Linked DNA regions of Homo sapiens: regions 1, 2, 3, 4, 5 and 7 are each linked to region 6. The links are contacts of gene promoters, found by promoter capture Hi-C in blood cells and fetal thymus (Javierre and others, 2016). All regions are on one chromosome and are shown on one strand. The core of a region is centred on a gene start or on the middle of the fragment in contact, and the rest is flanking DNA. Distances in the headings are between cores, read along the strand shown.

Region 1 (2,700 bases), core at 195-2,694, 310 kb after region 6:
CTGGGATTATAGGTATGAGCCACCGTGCCTGGCCCAGTCTCAAGTAATTGATCCCAGGCTGTTTCTCAGCATGGATGATGGTTCTACATGTGCCTATTTTAAAACTGAGTAAACCATCCAAATGTTTTTGTGTACTTTTTGGCATAGATGTTATTTTGTCACAATGAAAGTACTAAAATTGGAGTCCCTGGATAGATGTGTGTGAATCTGGGTATCTGTGTGCTCGTGAGTCTCTGTGTGTTCACGTGTGAGTATATATACATATATTCTCAGCCTTTGTCTTGTAGTGCCGCATTTGCTCACTTTGGCTTGCTTTGGGCCATGCCTAGGGCCATCTCAGAGTTGGAAATCCAGATCAAGAAGCAAGAATCCAGGCATGCCTGCAGAACACAGAGATAGTTGAAGGTATGTCCCTGAATCTTATGACCCCTGCTAATTTTTAACATTTGGAAAGGGTAGTTTACATGGGTCTCTGTTCTGAAGCATTCTTTCTATGAATTTCTCTTTTTATTCCATGTCCATTATGGTTGAAGCAGTTGCAGCTCATTTGTATTATCTTGTTAAGCGCTGGAAAAATAAATTGGCTCATGTCTTTCCTGGTACCTGGATTTCAAGAAGTCAAATCTTTTCTGTCTTTGCTTCCAGTAGCAAGGCACTCTTTGCATCCTAACACTTTTGTGAATGCATTTATGATGCATAGGACAGTTCCTTTGCCTAATGGTTCAGCAGTCTCCCTTTGCTGTGGCTTTTGCCTTAAGGCAAGCATTTAAAGATATTAAGAGAGCGTTCTGCTTTCATTAGCATGTTTTATTCTTTATTCCTAAGAGTCGTTTTAATCATATTAATTTGGAAGGACCCACCTGAAATTGCACAACCTCTTGTCTCCCTCTCTCTGAGGTCCCCTCCAGCTACATGGTCTAGGAGTCCCTACCATCTTACCCACTTCTGATGTTCTTCCGTTGTCTTGACCCCTGTCCCACCCCTTTGCCCAAGCCATGGGCTCCTCCCACTTGGTGGCTTTGTCCTTGTACTCCCTCTGTACCCTTCCTCTCGCTGTGCGCTGGAAAGGGTCTAAGATTGGGATTTAGAAGCTGAGTGCTATGCTTCTTAGTAGCTGCGTGACTTTGGGCAAATAATCTTAAAGACCACAACTTCTTCGTCTCTGCAAAGATATAGTCCCCATTCCCATTTTATATAGTGTGAGAATCAAATGGAAATATGCATAATATCACTGTGAAAACAATCATTATATATATCCAGAGTAATAATCCTGCCATTCTAATGCTAGGTTAACTCTACTGTTCATGTCCTTGGCTCCTGGCCCTGGAACGAGGCTAGATGTCTTACTGTTAGGGAACAAATCCTGTATACACATGGGCTGTGTCAGGTGAAGAGATGGCCCAGGAAGTCCTAGGCAGAGCATGCTCTGTTTCAGAAATGCCTGCAGAGAAACAGGGAGGCTTGAATCACTCCTGCTCTCAGAAGTGTTTTGGAAGGAGTATTCTTTTATTTAACAACTCCTTGTTGAGCACTTACTCCATACCAGACTTTGTATTAAGACGGACCTGGGTTAGAATTCTAGATCTGCCCAAGGGTACACAGTAAGACTGGTTAAGCCTGGAACCAAGAACCAAGGGTATACAGTAAGACTGATTAAGCCTGGAACCCAGGACGATGGGGGATGCCCCATCCAGAATAATAGGAAGAAAGGGGGGATGCCTTCTTTTTTCTTTTTTTTCCCGTCCTTTGTTCTCTTCATGAGTGGCAGATGGGTAATCGCATCTCCATACCACAGGACATGCCCCTTGGATGCATTCTCCAAAACTGGGAAAAGTTTAATTTCCTCAAATCTTAAACTTCTTGGCTTAAAAATAAACTGGAAAGAAATTACAAGACTCAGCTTCGAAACCCAGTACACCATGCAGGAAGTCCTCAGATTAGCCTCTTAAGTCTTTTATAATGGAGAGTAGAAAAAGGATGACAGGGCTAAGCCTGTTGGGTGGGGCAAATGGCATCCCCTCCCTCCAAAAGAAAATATTAAACTTCTTACCAGTCAGACTTCTGGCTTCTCTCTCTGTGCAAACTGGTTGTAGAAATGGTAAAAATCACTGTATTCCCTGCCCCTCCATGCACAACTTCTGATTTCTCTCTCTTTTTTTTTTTTTTGTGACGGAGTCTTGCTCTGTTGCCCAGGCTGGAGTGCAGTGGCGCGATCTCGGCTCACTGCAAGCTCCGCCTCCCTGGTTCATGCCATTCTCCTGCCTCAGCCTCCTGAGTAGCTGGGACTACAGGAGCCCGCCACCCCACCTGGCTAATTTTTTTGTATTTTTTAATAGATATGGGGTTTCACCATGTTAGCCAGGATGGTCTTGATCTCCTGACCTCGTGATCCGCCCGCCTTGGCCTCTCAAAGTGCTGGGATTACAAGCATGAGCCACCGCGCCCAGCCTGATTTCTCTTCTTGAATTTTCCTTTCTCAGAGCTACTTTTGTGGACTCTAAATTTTGTAAAAATTGCTTATCACTTTTCTAAAAATACCTTGTACACTCATGGTTAAGTCATAACTTTAGTTAAAACTTATTGACTTCACCTTTGAGGTTGCCTTTGGCAAAGCTCAAAAGACACAAGTATTTGCCATTTGGCCAGGCTAAAGTCAGGTATAAGAGATTAAAAGAATTTTGGCCGGGCACGGTGGCTCAT
Region 2 (2,700 bases), core at 112-2,611, 350 kb after region 6:
GAAAGTTTTGTTGGGAACATAGTTTTAGATTAATTTTTAGAAGTGCAGCTGCTCCCTTGACCTCTGGGGCTGGAAAGGATTGGCCAAAATCTCCATTTATATCCACTTGAAATAACTGACAAAGCTGGATTTGGGATTCAGAGAGTCCCAGAGGAAGGCCTGTCAGTGCCTTCTTCTTTTTTAGCCTTTAAGCTTGAATGAGTCGAGCGAGTCAAAGAAATTTTAACGGATGTACAGACAATGTCTTCACGGTCAACTTTTCACATCGTCGTTTGCTTAGGAAAGAGTGAAGATTAAGCAGCTTGCACTTTATTTTTGGCAATGCCTTTCCCTAGAACACAGGAATCCACAATTTACTGAGGGGAAATAATTATAAACCTTAAGAGGTGTAAGTTTCAGCCTCAAAAACTAACAAACTGAGAACTAATGTATTTTTGGTATAATTACTAGTTTTACTAAGTTTGATTTTTGCCAGACTTTCACCTAAAGCAAATGCAAAAAAGAATAGTGACAATTAATGGATTGGGCCAGTTACTAGAGTAGAAATCTTTCAGGTTCAAGCTAATTCTCTTTACTCCTCTATTTTCCCAGGGTAGCATGATTAAAGGTAAATGAAAAACCAATGGGGATAATTTGTGTTATAACTTGCACTTCTATTATGAGGAGGACATCATTATTCTATTATTTTATGAGAAATGTTCATTAAAATAATGTGACTCCCCCAACTCCAAAATTTACGGTACCATTAATGTTTCCTTTTCAGAACCGAGAGTTCCTATAGCATTCTCTCACTTTTTAAGTTTGTCATCCATTATTTCTAAGTAGACATATGGCTGCTTTAACTAATAGAGGCATGTGTGTATGTCTGTATAGGACTAGAGAAGAGATCTTTCTTTTCCTCTCTCCAACATAGCTATGAGGAAGACAGGTCAGTTGCAATTACTGCCATTCCAGAGACAGAATGATAGAGGTGTAAGGGCCACCCACGATGGCATTAACACATCTGCAGACTCTAGATTCTCCTTTTGCTGAACACTAGCAAATCACTTTGAATCAATGTGGAGTTTTAGTATAGCTTTTTGTTCTTTTTCTTTTTCACAGCAGTATGGAAGACTGGTTAGTACGACAGTACACTGTGAAATCCTTAATTCATTTTTTCAGTTGACACATATTTTTGGGGACTTGGTAGATGGTCAGGATACAATGATCAACAAGATAGACAAAGTCAGTGCCTTGTGAGGCTAATGTACCGTGTGTGTGTGTGTGTGTGTGTGTGTGCACGTGTGCACACGCAGTTGGCTCCCACTGAGAGATGGAATGAGTGGCAAAGTTAAGCTGGCCTTTCATAGAATCTCAGTGTTACCTTTTGCTAAGAATGGGAATAAAGGCCAAATGTGAATAGAAACTTAGGACTCAAGAGACTTTATTTGATAAGTCTGTCTCAGAAATCTAAGGATGTGGCCGGGTGCGGCGGCTCACACCTGTAATCCCAGCACTTTGGAAGGCCAAGGCGGGTGGATCACGAGGTCAAGAGATAGAGACCATCCTGGCCAACACGGTGAAACCCCGTCTCTACTAGAAATACAAAAATTAGTCGGGCGTGGTGGCACATGCCTGTAGTCCCAGCTACTTGGGAGGCTGAGGCAGGAGAATTGCTTGAACCCAGGAGGCAGAGGTTGCAGTGAGCCGAGATCGCACCACTGAACTCTAGCCTGGCGATAGAGCGAGACTTGGTCTCAAAAAATAAATAAATAAATAATAAAATAAATAAAACAAAATCAAAACCAATAATAAATCTAAGGATGTACTTAAATTGTAGAGACATAGGTATATAGGAGGACAGCAACAGCCATTTAATGATCTTTGGTTGGGGTCTTATTTTTTTTAGTTTTGTTATTCATTCATCCATTCACTCATTTCGTCAAACACTGGGTGACCTATCCATATCCTTAAGTTAGAGCAATGTGCTAGCCATTGGGAATATGAAAATGAATTTAGAAACACTTCTCTTCATGACCTTGAGCAGCTCACATTCTAGGGAAAGGAAAAGAATACCTGAAGAAATAAATATGATACAATGTGTTAAGCACTTTAATAGAATTACATACTGAGCGATATAAAGATATAGAAAAGTCCCTCAGAAATACATCTTTGAGAAAAAGAAGCTGAATAATGATGGCGTTTTCATGAGCCTTTTCAGTTCCAGTCAACAATTTTATGGTTATGTTTATATGTGAGACAAGCCCTCTTTGCCTTCATCTGAGATCTGAAGATTCACTTAATCAGAGCCTGACTCCAATTTCCTTTACAATTATGTACAGTTCTCTTAGTAAAGAGCATGCATGCAGGGTGCTTTATAGCCTTATCCCACAGAACCCATACTCCGGATGGGAGATGTTACATTTCATCTCCATTCTCTGTCCCTTAACTTTTCCCTGCCAGCAGCCATCCTATACTAAGTACTAATATATAAACCTTGTGATACTTGCTCTATTGGACATTCAGTGGCCTTGCATCCTTCCCGTCAATGCCAAGCTTAAGAACTAGATGGTTTCCGGTGTCTCAGACCTGGCAGAACTTGAATGATGAACACACAGTTGAGAAATTCAGGAGAGTTAGGAACTTAATACCAAGGGAAGGAATCCCGCTTTCTCTGGGGCCTAAAAGGACCAGAAATAGGAATGTGGGCCAGGCACGGTG
Region 3 (2,700 bases), core at 133-2,632, 370 kb before region 6:
CCAGAATAGGGTCCAAGTGGCTGCATTCATGAAGCTGACAATATTATTTTGCTGGGGATATGCAACAAAAGTAAACTACTTCTATAAAAGGTAGCCAACAAAACAAAGTAATTGTAAATGTCAACCATCTTACAGATATGATAACCTCTGCTTTCACTTACTTTACTGCATTATCAAGAATATTCCTCACGTATGCCGCAGACCTTCTTTTTCCTGTTTTCTAGGAGTGAGAACACGTCAGAAATGTGGAAGGTAAAGGTTTTATCGGTGACTTTTCACGTCAAGGATATAATGCAATACAGTTAAGAGCATCAGAGAGAAGAAATATACTTTCCAGGTAATCAGAACACCTAGATTTTTTTTAAAGTTTTAAGAAATATTTTATTCTGAAACAATTACAGATTCACAGGAAACTGCGAGTCAACTATATACTACACACAACAACACTAATCTACATGCAGCGATACTAGAGAGAGATGCAATGTACCCTCCACCCAGTCTCCTCAGTGCTTATATCTTACCTAACTAGAGCACAATATCAAAATCAAAAATTGACATTGGCACAATGTGTGTGTGTCATTCTATGTCATTTTATCATGTTTAGATTCATGTCCCACAATGTACCACCACAATCAACACATAGAAGTCTTCGATCACCCCCAAAGATTTCCCTGGGTCACCCCTGGACAGTGAGTCACGTCCACTATTCTCCCTCCAACTACCCCAACCCCTAATGACCACTAAGTTGGGAACACCTAGATTTTTTAATATCAATTTTTAACTACATAAGTAACCTGAGAACACATCTGAGACATGGATATTAATCATACTTCTACTATGAATGTGCTGTGTGTCCCCTTAAACTTTCTGCTTTTCAGTTTCCTCCCTAGGAGAACAGAGATCATAGAAGCATCTCTGCCCATTGAGATCAGTAATGACAATGATCAAGTCCCTGGCAATTGGGAAGAGTGCTGCACATGGAAGCCAGCCTTATGATTTAAAGGCATCACCTGGATCCAGTCCACTATGCCTCGCTGCTGGCTTTGTTCTCACTGACCCACTCATACCTCTTCAGAGATCAGGTTGTGCCACTCTCTCCTGACCACACTGTTGTTATAGTGGAAGTGTGGCTTGGCGTACTTAACATATTCTAGGTTGGAGTTCAGTTTTTCCCAGTAGCCCTTAAAGCTGAGCACCTGTAGGAGACAAAAACATCAGTGGCCTTCAGAGGCAGGCCCAGTGGCCCAAACCACCCAGTGAGTATTACACAAGCCTTATTTCCCGAGCTCTCAGGGTCCACATTTCTGAGTGAATACTTTGTACAGAAGATGGCATTCTAGACCCAATAGGGATTCTAAAATAGACTTAAAGAATCTTCTTTACCCACTTCATTTTCTGTCTCTTTTTTTTTTTTTTTTTTTTGTCGTTGTTTTTTTAAACCACATAGAGAACTGCTGCTCACTTCCCAAAACCAACAGGACTTCCCCAGATTGAGGCTTAGCAGGGAAACCTGTATTAAACACACTGAGTCATTTCCTCCCTTGAGACCCGTTTTTATGACTTAGGTGGTGTCAACAGTGCCATGTTCACTAAGAGAAAGTTCATTAACATTTGGATAAATGGAGTAGGCGTACTTTCCTGCTAAATTTATTTACTGCCCAGGACATTTTTCAAAACCTAGGAATCAAAAAAAGATAAAATGAACTAATTTTACATTGTCACATACACCAAAACAGAATTAGTCAGCATTCTATCTAGATCTTTGAATTATTGATATAATTGTACTACCCTGAAGCAAGAATGTATCCATTATATTCATTTTTAAATAATAAAATGCAATGTTAATACGTTCTTAGTGTTGACCAGGTGCAGTGGCTCATGCCTGTAATCCCAGCACTTTGGGAGGCTGAGGTGGGCGGATCACGAAGTCAGGAGATCGAGACCACGGTGAAACCCCGTCTCTACCAAAAATACAAAAAATTAGCCAGGTGCAGTGGCGGGCGCTTGTAGTCCCAGCTACTCAGGAGGCTGAGGCAGGAGAGTGGCATGAACCCAGGAAGTGGAGCTAGCAGTGAGCTGAGATCATGCCACTGCACTCCAGCCTGGGTGACAGAGCGAGACTCCGTCTCAAAAAAAATAAAAATAAAAAAATACATTCTTAGTGTTGAAGGATATTCTGACACAACTTGGTTTTAAACCAATAAAGGTAGACTTAGGATACTTTTTGCCAAAATATGTGCATTTACAAATGATTTGACTGGGGCCAGAGATGTAATGTGTGGTCATAAAACTAAGTGAACTATTGCCTGCCAAGGTGACAAGACTTGGCTGAACTGCAAGAAAAATAAGAAAACTTAAAAACAAACAAACAAAAACACCTCAATCAAGAAAAATGCCCTCATGTTAAATTATAGCACATTATTACCATTTTTATTCAAAAGACAGTCATAATTGGTTTGAAATGTGTTTTGGAGTATCAGTAAAGTAAGTAACATAATATTAAAACTTGCTCTTTCAGAAGCCTGAAATGCCCATCCAGCCAACATCCCTTCTCCCAGAGACAGAAAAACTCTTCCCAAGAAAGTCTCATGTCCCGGGGAAAACAGGAATCAAATCCCACTCCTCACTTGACTCACCTCACTCATCTTTTCTTTCCCTTTCCATTTATTTATAATGAACGTACACTTATCCACCCTTTGG
Region 4 (2,700 bases), core at 117-2,616, 330 kb after region 6:
GAATATTTGATGAGTGAATACATATATTCCACAAATAGAAATGGAAGACTTGAAACCAAATGCTGACTTGAGGAAACACTTCAGGGCAAAGGATTTTCATTTGAAGTATAATCTGTCAAAAACAGGTTTGTATTTGGAACTTTGATCAGTTTTGAGAGGGATGATGGTGGTGAAATGGTAATGTGTATGTGAAGCGGGAGGGGAAATGACTAAGTTTGGGGAGAGGGAACAAGGAGGAAGCCAGCCACAGAAATACACTGGGAAGAGTTCCCGCTTTCATCGGAGGCCCCTTAGGATGGACAGGGATGAAGAGAAGCTCAGATTCCCAGGGCGCAAAGTCAAATTCTGAATTTTTATGGATGTTCTTTCCCGTGTTATGAGCTCTAATGATGCAGTAATAGCTTTACTTAAAGGAGCTCTGTCCCTGGGAAGTCATTAACCAACATGCCAGAAAATGTTCCAATGAACCCACAGGTAAGATAGACTCTAAATATCTTATATTCCACTGTGGGAGAAGCAAGCCCCTCTCCTAAGTTAGGATCAAGTTTCTTACCCTTCCTATTGTCAGTTCTAGCCAGTTTGGATCTTTCCTAGAAAACAGATTGATTAATCCATAAGTACATATCAGTATATATACACACAGATCACACACACCCCATTATGTTTTAGTTAAAAGATGTATGGTTTCTCAAATTATCTTGTAGGAGCCCAGCAATATTAAAAAATAAAATGTGCTCCTTCACTTCATATGCCAGAAATAAAAAATCTCATCTACAGAAATTGTGTTTCAACAGCTTGTTTATGATATATAACCAAAGTGATGGTAAAACCAGAGAGCTGACCCAATAGGAATAAACTGCTTGTTGCAGTAAATAAGTATCTGTATTCTTGGTTTTCCCATATGGCTCTTAACTCCAGCAAACATTTGTGCAGAAGAGGAAAGCATAACCCACATCAAAGGAGAGTTAATTTTATCCTGTGCTGAAGACACAGAGGTTGAGAAAGAAAAATCTTTTAAGGATTGTGCCCAAATTATAATGGTTCATTTGCATCTGTTCCACCATCACAAAGGTGATTGCTCTTTATAACAAAACATAAACAAGAAAACCCTTAGAAGGGAGCCAGAGACTGTGGGCAATGGTGGGGTTCGGGTGGGGCCGGAGGTGGGGTGGGGAAAGAGACTTTGTCAGCTGTCCCATACCTCACCAGTGGCCTCAGGGCATCCAGCTTCAGGCTGGGTGTTTCCGAAAGCCATGAATAAGAGTTCCTACATTGCTTTCCTACTCTCATTACAGGGCATGAACCCAGGGCCTAACGACTGCGTCTTGGATTAGAGTGGTCAGGAAGATAATAGAAGCATTATTGCTATTGATACTACTCATAATGGCAATAGCTAACACTGACTGAGGTACTTACTAGATGCCAGGCACTCTTTGAAGGCCCTGAAATGTATTAACTCATGTTAATACATGTAAACTGACACATTTTACAGATGAGGAAACAGAGACACAGAGGTTAAGGAACTTGTTCAAGGCCACACAGCTGGTAGCTAAGGGGCATTGAATGGCTTTCGGAATTGGGTAATGTTCTACAAACTCAGCTGAAACACTGACGCTGAATGTCTTTACTGTCTGCTAGTCTGATTGAGAAATGAGGGCTCATGTCTTCTTCTGGGGCAGTATAACAGAAACTTCCATCTAAAGTGATTGTCAGAAGCAGGTCCATCGTTATTCCTAATGGAGACTCTCAAACGCCATTTGTGTTTGAACCTTGGACACAGTCGCTATGATTAGAGCATTGATCTGTGAAAATGATAGAAATATGACCTGCAGGCCAGGCGCGGTGGCTCACACCTGTAATCCCAGCACTTTGGGAAGCCAAGGCGGGTGGATCACCTGAGGTCAGGAGTTCAAGACCAGCCTGGCTAACATGGTAAAACCCCGTCTCTACTAAAAATACAAAAATTAGCCGGGTGTGGTGGCACATGCCTGTAATCCCAGCTACTCGGGATGCTGAGGCATGAGAATCGCTTGAACCTGGGAGGCAGAAGTTACAGTGAGCCGAGATCATGCCTCTGCACTCCAGCCTGGGCGACAGAGTGAGACTCCATCTCAAAAAAAAAAAAAAAAGAAAGAAAAAGAAAAAGAAATATGACCTGCAATCAGAGAACAATAAAATTGGATTTCTTAAGGGCAGGGATAGTACTATCTACTTAAAAAAATATCTTCACAGTGACATTCCTTGAAGCTGGATTGAATTGAAAATATATTAGATACTGGAGACACTGAGTCACTTTGAGACATAAATACTTTTACTGCTCAAATGACTAGAATTATTCTGTAAAAATATCCATGAATTTAGTGCCATTTGTTATAAAACTCTTTCCTGTTGCAACCTACAGTTGTCTGGGGTTAGACAATACTGGTGTGGTTTTATTGAAATCTATTTTCTTTTAATTTAGAATATTATGGGAAAATACTAAAATGATTAAGGTAGATCAAAGGACAGTAATGTGAAGTCATTTGGCATTCAAAAGAAAAACCTTTTAAGAATTGTGTTCAAACTATAAAGGTTCATTTGCATCTGTTCAGCCATCACTAAGGTGATTGCTTTTTGTAACAAAATATAAACAAAAGTACCTTGAAAATTGCAGAACAAATGGTTTTACTTTGCATCTGCTCTTTCTGAAGCATTGTTTCC
Region 5 (2,700 bases), core at 75-2,574, 350 kb before region 6:
CCAACACTTCAATGCTATTTTATGTTATTTTTCTTATTAATATAAGAAGACAGGACTATCAGGCCTCTGAGCCCAAGCTAAGCCATCATATCCCCTGTGACCTGCACGTATACATCCAGATGGCCTGAAGGAAGTGAAGAATCACAAAAGAAGTGAAAATGGCCGGTTTCTGCCTTAACTGATGACATTCCACCATTGCGACTTGTTTCTGCCCCATCTTAACTGAGCGATTAACCTTGTGAAATTCCTTCTCCTGGCTCAGAAGCTCCCCCACTGAGCAACTTGTGACACACGCCCCTGCTCATAAGAGAAAACCCCCTTTAACTGTAATTTTTGACTACCCACCCAAATCCTATAAAACGGCCCCACCCCATCTCCCTTCGCTGACTCTTTTCGGACTCAGCCCGCCTGCACCCAGGTGATTAAAAAGCTCTATTGCTCACACAAAGCCTGTTTGGTGGTCTCTTCACCTGGACGCACGTGACATCCCTTTCATTGAATATCAATTTATCACAAAATAAGAATCAAATGCTATAAAAATCGTCATAGCCTTTCACCCAATGTTACCTCTGGGCTCTTAACCTTAGGGGAATAGATCAAAAGAAAAACTGTATGTATAAAAATGTTCACTTTGGGAGGCCGAGGTGGGCAGATCACCTGAGGTCAGGAGTTCGAGACCAGCCTGACCAACATGGTGAAACCCCGCCTCTACTAAAAATACAAAAATTATCCGGGCATAGTGGTGCACACCTGTAATCCCAGCTACTCAGGAGGCTGAGGCAGGAGAATCGCTTGAACCCAGGAGGCAGAGGCTGCAGTGAGCCGAGATCACACCAAAGCACTCCAGCCTGGGCAACGAGAATGAGACTCCATCTCAAAAAAAAAAAAAAAAAAAAGAAAGAAAGAAAAAAAATTCTCTGCAACATTATTTCTAACAGCAAAAAGAAATTTTTTTAATGGGGGCTAGGGACAAACTAAATGTCCAAAAAACAGAAGAACAATTGAGTTAAGGCACTGCAACCCAGCAGGGCATGGTGGCTCATACCTGTAATACCAACACTTTGGGAGGCCGAGTTAGGAGGATGGCTTTAGCTTAGGAGTTTGAAACTAGCTTGGGCAACATAGTAAGACCCTGTCTCTACCAAAAAAAAAAAAAAAAGTTTTAATTAACCAGACATGATGACATGTACGTGTAGTCCTAGCTACTCAGGAGGCTGAAGCAAGAGGACTGCTTGAGCCCAGGAGTTCAAGGTTGCAGTGAGCTGTGACTATGTCATTGCACTCCAGCCTGGGCAACAGAGTGAGACCCTACCTCAAAAAAAGAAAAAAAAAAAAGTATGACATACTTATTGTGGTGTTTTGTATGTATTAATTTTCATCCACCCACTCCTGGTTCACAATGCCCATAGCCTTTGTTACAGCCTGATGTTATAATATCGGGTATTTTAGGCTTCGGGACCAGGACTAGTCTCGGGAAACTCTCTCTCCTGCCTTCCTTTCACCTGCCCTAAGGCATGACTCTCCCCTCCACCACTCCCCACCACCACCCCCCGCCCCACCCCCCTGCCTTTCTGATTGCAGATCTTAAGACCCTCCCCTAAGAGGGTCCTGCCTCATACCCTGGAGGGAAGGAATGCTTCCATAAAAATCCCAGAAGACTGGGTTGGGGAAGTTTCCCCATAGCTGAACAGGTGGAGGTTCCTGGAGGGTGGTGAATCGAAAGAGGGCATGGAAGCTCCACGTCCCTTCCCCCATACCCCACTCTATGCGTCTCTTCATCTGTTTCCTTTGCAATATCCTTTATAATAGGCCAGTAAACATGTTTCCCTGAGTTCTGTGAGCCACCCCAGCAAATTAATCAAACCTAAAGAGGTACCGTGGGAACCCCAACTTAAAGACAGTTGGTCAGAAGTTCCAGAGGTCTGGACTTGCACCTGTTATCTGGGGGTGTGGAGGGTAGTCTTGGGGACTATGTCCCCCAACCTGTGGGATCTGACACTGTCTCTAGGTAGATAGTGTCAGAACTGAATTAAAGGACACCCAGCTGGTGTCTGCTGCTTGGTACATGAAGAATTCCCACACATTTGGTAACAGAAGTGTTTTTCTGTGTTGATGATTATTGTTGCAGTGTGAGAGAGAGGGAAAACACAGTTTGGACAGAGTTTTTCCTCACACACTTACTAATTTAAAATAATAAAAAGAAAAAGACACTGCCATCCAGTGGAATCCTATGGAGTCATTAGAAATTATAAGTTTACATAGCAACATGAAAAAATGTTTACAATAACATAATTTCTAAAATTTATCTAATATCTGTAGATCACAATTACTACTGGGTAAAATATGCATACCTATAACAAAGGCCAAGAGGAAATGGGGGAGAAGAGACAGTTGGTACATTAGGAACTGTAGAATTATGGATGATATTTCTTTCAAAATTTTTCTTCACTGGTTTGTTGTCCATTAAAAAATTATGGTCCATCATGGTGGTTCACACCTATAATCCTAGCACTCTAAGAGGCTAAGGCAGGAGGATGACTTGAGGCCAGTAGATTGAGATCATCCTGGCAACATAGCAAGACCCCATCTCTACAAAAAAAAAAAAAAATAAGAAAAAATAAGAAACTGGATGGGTATGGTGGCTCATGACTGTAGTACCAACCACTCAGGAGGCTGAGACGGGAGGATTGCTTGAGCCCA
Region 6 (2,700 bases), core at 114-2,613:
ATAATAATAATATTATTATTATTATTATTATTTTTTGAGACGGAGTCTTGCCCTGTCGCCCAAGCTGGAGTGCAGTGGCGCAGTCTCGGCTCACTGCAACCTCCGCCTCCTGGGTTCAAGCGATTCTCCTGCCCCAGCCTCCCCAGTAGCTGGGATTACAGGTGCGCGCTTCCATGCCCAGCTAATTTTTGCATTTTTAGTAGAGACGGGGTTTCACCATGTTGGTCAGGCTGGTCTCGAACTTCTGACCTCGTGATCCGCCCGCCCCGGTCTCCCAAAGTGCTGGGATTACAGGTGTGAGCCACCGCGCCCGGCTATAATAATTATTATAAAATTCAAATCTTAAGGCCGCACATGGTGGCTCACGCCTGTAATCCCAGCACTTTGGGAAGCGGAGGTGGGCCGCTCACCTGAGATCAGGAGTTCGAGTCCAGCCTGGCCAACATGGTGAAACCCCGTCTCTAATAAACACAAAAATTAGCCAAGCATGGTGCCGGACGCCTGTAGTCCCTGTTACTGGGGAGGCTGAGGCAGGAGAATCGCTTGAATCTGGGAGGCGGAGGTTGCGGTGAGCCGAGATCGCGCCACGGCACTCCAGCCTCGACAACAGAGCAAAACTCCGTCCCAATAAATAAATAAATAAATAAAATAAAAATCTTAAGGGTCTAGTCACAACAGTTCAAAAGTCTCCAAAGGGAGACTCTCACCTTCAAGCTTGTAAGTAATACTAAAGTTCTAGATTTGCTGGAAGTTATCTCCTTCAATGGATTACAGCACATGATCTAGCAATAATAACGTACCTTGTCACCACATCGAATGATTTTGAACACTTCCCATCAATCGACTACCGACTAACAAAAAGAAGGACTTGATTCCCGGCAATTTTTTCTCTTCTGAACTGAGCATTCCCGAAATCCAGCTTGCTGAACGCGCAGATGCAGGGTGAGAGGCACCCCAGGAAAAATGGAAGGGAAAGTGGTACAAGTTAAAACAGTCTTCGTGGCCGCAGAGACGATCGCTACCTCGGCCATGGCAGATCTGGGGGTCCGGGGCGGGGGTTCTTCCCTGATACCCACCGGGCACGCGAGTTCACGCCAGCGACAGTGGAAAGCCCTCCCCTCGCAGCGCGCTCCGCCACTAGCCGCACCCCGCCGAGCTCTGACCTCCGAAGAGGGTCCCTGTGGCGATCCCGCCCCTTCGTCTGATGTTTGTGCCTTTGATTGGCTCTTAGGTGGATCCCTCAGCGTGGCTTGCCCAATGGAGCAATGCCGGCTGGTGGCCTGGCCGCTCCGCCCCTTCCCTACCCCTCGCGGAGGGCCCGCCCCCTGCCCCGCGCCGGCTAGCGGAGGAGAGTAAATACAACAGGAGCGCAAAATGGCGGAACCGCCGAGCCCCGTGCACTGTGTCGCTGCCGCGGCCCCCACCGCCACCGTCTCGGAGAAAGAACCGTTTGGCAAGCTGCAACTCTCCTCCCGGGACCCTCCGGGTTCTCTGTCCGCCAAGAAGGTCCGGACTGAGGAGAAGAAGGCACCGCGGAGAGTGAACGGAGAAGGGGGCAGCGGCGGGAACAGCAGGCAGCTGCAGCCGCCGGCAGCACCTTCGCCTCAGAGCTATGGCAGCCCCGCGTCTTGGAGCTTTGCCCCTCTGTCTGCTGCTCCCTCCCCGTCCTCTTCTCGGAGCAGTTTCTCTTTCTCCGCTGGCACGGCCGTTCCCTCCTCAGCCTCCGCTTCCTTGTCTCAGCCGGTGCCGCGCAAACTGCTGGTCCCTCCTACGCTGCTGCACGCTCAGCCTCACCATCTCCTCCTGCCCGCCGCCGCCGCCGCTGCCTCGGCTAACGCCAAGTCGCGCAGACCTAAGGAGAAGCGGGAGAAGGAGAGGAGGAGGCACGGTCTCGGTGGGGCCCGAGAGGCCGGCGGGGCCTCCCGGGAGGAGAACGGGGAGGTGAAGCCGCTGCCCCGAGGTGGGTGCCGTGCGGGGAGGGGGAGGGGAGGGCGCCGTGGGTCCCCGCCGCCCCCTGGCGCCCACGGGGCCCGGGAAGGGGGAGCGCGGCGGCCGCGTGCGCCGGCCTGGAGGGGCTGGGAGGCGTCCGGTTTTCAGCAGAGGATTTTGCAGTTCCCAAGGGGACAGGAAATGGAGCCTGTAATTTCGGTTGCAGAGAGGGGGATGGCCGACACTCTTATTTTCTGTATCGTTTCTTCCTCCCAGTTAGTGCGCTGCAGGATTTGTGAAAATCCATCTTGAGGACTCTCCTAGGTTTGTTTGGCTAGGGAGAGAGATGGAGGGAACGGGATGGGGGAAGGGTTTGGTTTTGTAAAAGATGCTTGATTGATTGTTAGACCACTTAGACGTGGTCGCGGGAATTCGTATTTGTGACACAGCGTTCAACCCCGGATAATCCTGTCAAAAAAGGGGTGTGGAGAGAGCACTGGCGTCAGCTGGAAGCTACCAGAGGCCTGAGCTTTTCATCCCTATTAGGGAAATGAGGTAGCGTGCAGGGCCCGAAGTGCGCTGTTTCGTAAGGTACCCTCCCTGCACCCTACTCTCCGCTGCGTATTCTTAAGTGTTTTGGGTGGTCCTGTTTGAAATACCACCCTTCTGAAAGAATTTTCAGCCATATTCTTTTTTTCCCTGCAGCAAATGATAAAACCAGGAGCTTTGACGATTTTTCGCCAGATCAAGCGGCTGCAGAATGTTTGAGCA
Region 7 (2,700 bases), core at 108-2,607, 330 kb before region 6:
ATAGCTAGGACTACATGTGTGCCTGGCTAATTATTTTATTTTTTTTAAGAGATGGAGTCTATGTTACCCAGGGTGGTCTTGAACTCCCTGGGCTCATGTGATCTTCCTACTTTGGCCTCCCAAAGAGCTGGGACTACAGGAATTTTTTTTAACTTCTATTTTCAGTTCAGGGGTACATGTGAAGGTTTGTTATATAGGTAAACTCATATCACAGGGGTTTATTTTTACAGATAATTTCATCACCCAGCTATTAAGCCTGGTACTCAATAGTTACTTTTTCTGCTCCGCTCCCTCCTCCCACCCTCCACTCTCAAGAAGACCCCAGTGTCTGTTGTTCCCTTGTGTTCAGGAGTTCTCATCATTTAGCTCCTACCTGTAAGTGAGAACACTAGGTATTTCGTTTTACTGTTCCTGCGTTAGTTTGCTAAGGATAATAGCCTCTATCTCCATCCATGTTCCCACAAAAGACATGATCTCATTCTTTTTTATAGCTGCACAGTATTCCACGGTATGTATGTACCACATTTTCTTTATCCAATCTGTCACTGATGGGCATTTAGGTTGATTCCATGTCTTTGCTAACATGAATCACGCTGCAATTGACATTTGCATACGTATATCTTTATGGTAGAATGATTTTTATTCCTCTAAGTATATACCCAGTAATCAGATTGCTGGGTCCAATAGTAGTTCTGCTGTTAGCCTTTGAGTAATCACCATACTGCTTTCCACAATGGTAGAACTAACTTACACTCTCATCAACAGTGTATAAGTCTTCCCTTTTCTCTGCAACCTTGCCAGCAACTGTGGGTTTTTTTTTTTTTTTTTTTTTTTTACTTTTAATAATAGCCATTCTGACTGGTATGAGATGGTATCTCATTGTAACCTCTATCTGCATTTCTCTAATCCTCAGTGATACTGAGTTTTTCACATGCTTGCTGGCCACATGTCTTCTTTTGTAAAGTATCTGTTCATGTCCTTTGCCCACTTTTTAATGGAGTTGTTTTTGTCTTATAAATTTAAGTACCTTGTAGATGCTGGATACTAGGCCTTTGTCAGATGCATAGTTTGCAAATATTTTCTCCCAATTCTGTAGGTCGTTTGGTTTACTCTGTTAGTTTCTTTTGCTGTGCAGAAGCTCTTAAGTTTAATTCGATCCCATTTGTCAATTTTTGCTTCTTTTGTGATTACTTTTGATGTCTTTGTTATGAAATATTTGCCCATTCCTATGACTAGGATGGTATTGCCTACGTTTTCTTTCAGAATTTTTATAAATTTTGGGTTTTACATTTAAGTCTTTAATGCATCTTGAGTTGATTTTTGTCTATGTTGTAAGGAAGGGTTCCAGTTTCAATTTCTATATATGGCTAGCCAGTTATCCCAACACCATTTATTGAGTAGGGAGTCTTTTCCCCATTGCTTTTGTCAGCTTTGCTGAAGATCAGGTAGTCATAGGTGTGCAGCCTTATTTCTGGGTTCGCTATTCCATTCTATTGGTCTATGTGCCTGTTTTGGTAACAGTACCATACTGTTTTGGTTACTGTAGCCCTGTAGTATAGTTTGAAGTTGGGTAACATGATATCTCCAGCTTTGTTCTTTTTGCTTAGGTGTACCTTGGCTACTCAGGCTTTTTTGGTTCCATATGAATTTTAAGACAGTTTTTTCTAGTTCTGTGAAGAATATTGATAGTTTGATAGGAATAGCATTGAATCTGTACACTGCTTTGGGCAGTATGGTCATTTTAATGATATTGATTCTTCCTATCCATGAGCATGTTTTTCCATTTCTTTGTAACTTCTGATTTCTTTGAGCAGTGTTTTGTAATTCTCATTGTAGACATCTTTAACTTCCCCTCCCTGGTTAGCTGTATTCCTAGGTATTTTATTCTTTCTGTGGCAATTGTGAATGGGATTGCCTTTCTGATTTGGCTCTTGACTTTGCTCTTGTTGGTGTAAAGAAATGCTAGAGATTTCTGTACATTGATTTTGTATCCTGAAAGTTTGCTGAAGTTGTTTATCAGTTGAAGGAGCTTTTGGGCTGAGACTATGGGGTTTTCTACAGAATCATGCCGTATGCAAACAGGGATAGCCTGACTTCCTCTCTTCCTATTTGGGATGCTCTCTTGCCTGATTGCTCTAGCTATGACTTCCAATACCATGTTGGATAGGAGTGGTGAGAGAGGACATCCTTGTCCTGTGCCAGTTTTCAAGGGAAATGCTACCAGCTTTTGCCCATTCAGTATGATGTTGGCTATGGGTTTGTCATAGATGGCTATTATTTTGAGGTTTTCCTTCAATACCTAGTTTATTCAGAGTTTTTAACATGAAGGGGTATTGAGTTTTATCGAAAGCCTTTTCTGCATCTATTGAGATAAATGTGGTTTTTGTCTTTAATTCTGTTTATGTGATGAATCACATTTATTGAATTGCATATGTTGAGCCAACCTTGCCTCCCAGGGATGAAACCTACTTGACTGTGGTAGATTAGCTTTTTGACATGTTATTGGATTTGGTTTCCATGTATTTTGATGATTTTTGCATCAGCGTTCATCAAGGATATTGGCCTGAAGTTTTCTTTTGTTCTTATGTCTCTGACAGGTTTTCAGTATCAGGATGATGCTGGCCTCATAGAATGAACTGGGGAAGAGTCCATCCTCCTCAATTTTTTGAAAGGGTTTCAGTAGGAATGGTACCAGCTTTT

The links. Contacts are between HindIII fragments. The CHiCAGO score rates a contact against its expected background, and 5 or more counts as called.
Region 1: a contact is called between a fragment that was not itself captured here and the fragment with the promoter of RSBN1L in region 6, in 1 of 17 cell types (total CD4 T cells). The highest score is 5.4, in total CD4 T cells.
Region 2: a contact is called between a fragment that was not itself captured here and the fragment with the promoter of RSBN1L in region 6, in 2 of 17 cell types (fetal thymus and total CD4 T cells). The highest score is 5.6, in fetal thymus.
Region 3: a fragment that was not itself captured here is called in contact with the fragment with the promoter of RSBN1L in region 6 in 7 of 17 cell types (total B cells, total CD8 T cells, non-activated CD4 T cells and 4 more); the score reaches 9.0 in total B cells.
Region 4: a contact is called between a fragment that was not itself captured here and the fragment with the promoter of RSBN1L in region 6, in 7 of 17 cell types (total B cells, naive B cells, non-activated CD4 T cells and 4 more). The highest score is 10.9, in total B cells.
Region 5: a contact is called between a fragment that was not itself captured here and the fragment with the promoter of RSBN1L in region 6, in 6 of 17 cell types (non-activated CD4 T cells, naive CD8 T cells, total CD8 T cells and 3 more). The highest score is 11.0, in non-activated CD4 T cells.
Region 7: a contact is called between a fragment that was not itself captured here and the fragment with the promoter of RSBN1L in region 6, in 11 of 17 cell types (monocytes, total B cells, non-activated CD4 T cells and 8 more). The highest score is 15.2, in monocytes.

The regions. Positions count from the first base shown.
Region 1 is chr7:78,007,104-78,009,803 of GRCh38, forward strand. No RefSeq gene overlaps it. Among named protein-coding and RNA genes, the nearest start is that of DDX3ILA1, 18 kb to the left of the region's middle. The HindIII fragment of the contact is 6,998 bases long and covers 1-2,700 here.
Region 2 is chr7:78,043,428-78,046,127 of GRCh38, forward strand. All of the region lies in intron 21 of MAGI2 (membrane associated guanylate kinase, WW and PDZ domain containing 2), which reads right to left. Among named protein-coding and RNA genes, the nearest start is that of DDX3ILA1, 54 kb to the left of the region's middle. The HindIII fragment of the contact is 2,343 bases long and covers 191-2,533 here.
Region 3 is chr7:77,329,172-77,331,871 of GRCh38, forward strand. It overlaps GSAP (gamma-secretase activating protein), which reads right to left. Exons shown (of 31, transcript NM_017439.4): 20 at 1,068-1,196; 21 at 162-220. Among named protein-coding and RNA genes, the nearest start is that of CCDC146-AS1, 82 kb to the left of the region's middle. The HindIII fragment of the contact is 2,831 bases long and covers 1-2,700 here.
Region 4 is chr7:78,025,515-78,028,214 of GRCh38, forward strand. All of the region lies in intron 21 of MAGI2 (membrane associated guanylate kinase, WW and PDZ domain containing 2), which reads right to left. Among named protein-coding and RNA genes, the nearest start is that of DDX3ILA1, 36 kb to the left of the region's middle. The HindIII fragment of the contact is 2,914 bases long and covers 1-2,700 here.
Region 5 is chr7:77,345,395-77,348,094 of GRCh38, forward strand. All of the region lies in intron 19 of GSAP (gamma-secretase activating protein), which reads right to left. Among named protein-coding and RNA genes, the nearest start is that of GSAP, 70 kb to the right of the region's middle. RefSeq lists an enhancer at 2,639-2,700. The HindIII fragment of the contact is 5,489 bases long and covers 1-2,700 here.
Region 6 is chr7:77,695,096-77,697,795 of GRCh38, forward strand. RSBN1L (round spermatid basic protein 1 like) reads left to right here and starts at 1,364. Exons shown (of 8, transcript NM_198467.3): 1 at 1,364-1,960. The coding sequence starts at 1,375. It overlaps APTR (Alu-mediated CDKN1A/p21 transcriptional regulator), which reads right to left and starts at 1,170. Exons shown (of 2, transcript NR_134254.1): 1 at 801-1,170. RefSeq lists enhancers at 459-1,354, 1,355-2,250, 1,435-1,664 and silencers at 1,185-1,404, 1,875-2,194, 2,485-2,584. The HindIII fragment of the contact is 2,163 bases long and covers 713-2,700 here.
Region 7 is chr7:77,365,088-77,367,787 of GRCh38, forward strand. The region is part of intron 12 of GSAP (gamma-secretase activating protein); the gene reads right to left. Among named protein-coding and RNA genes, the nearest start is that of GSAP, 50 kb to the right of the region's middle. The HindIII fragment of the contact is 6,987 bases long and covers 1-2,700 here.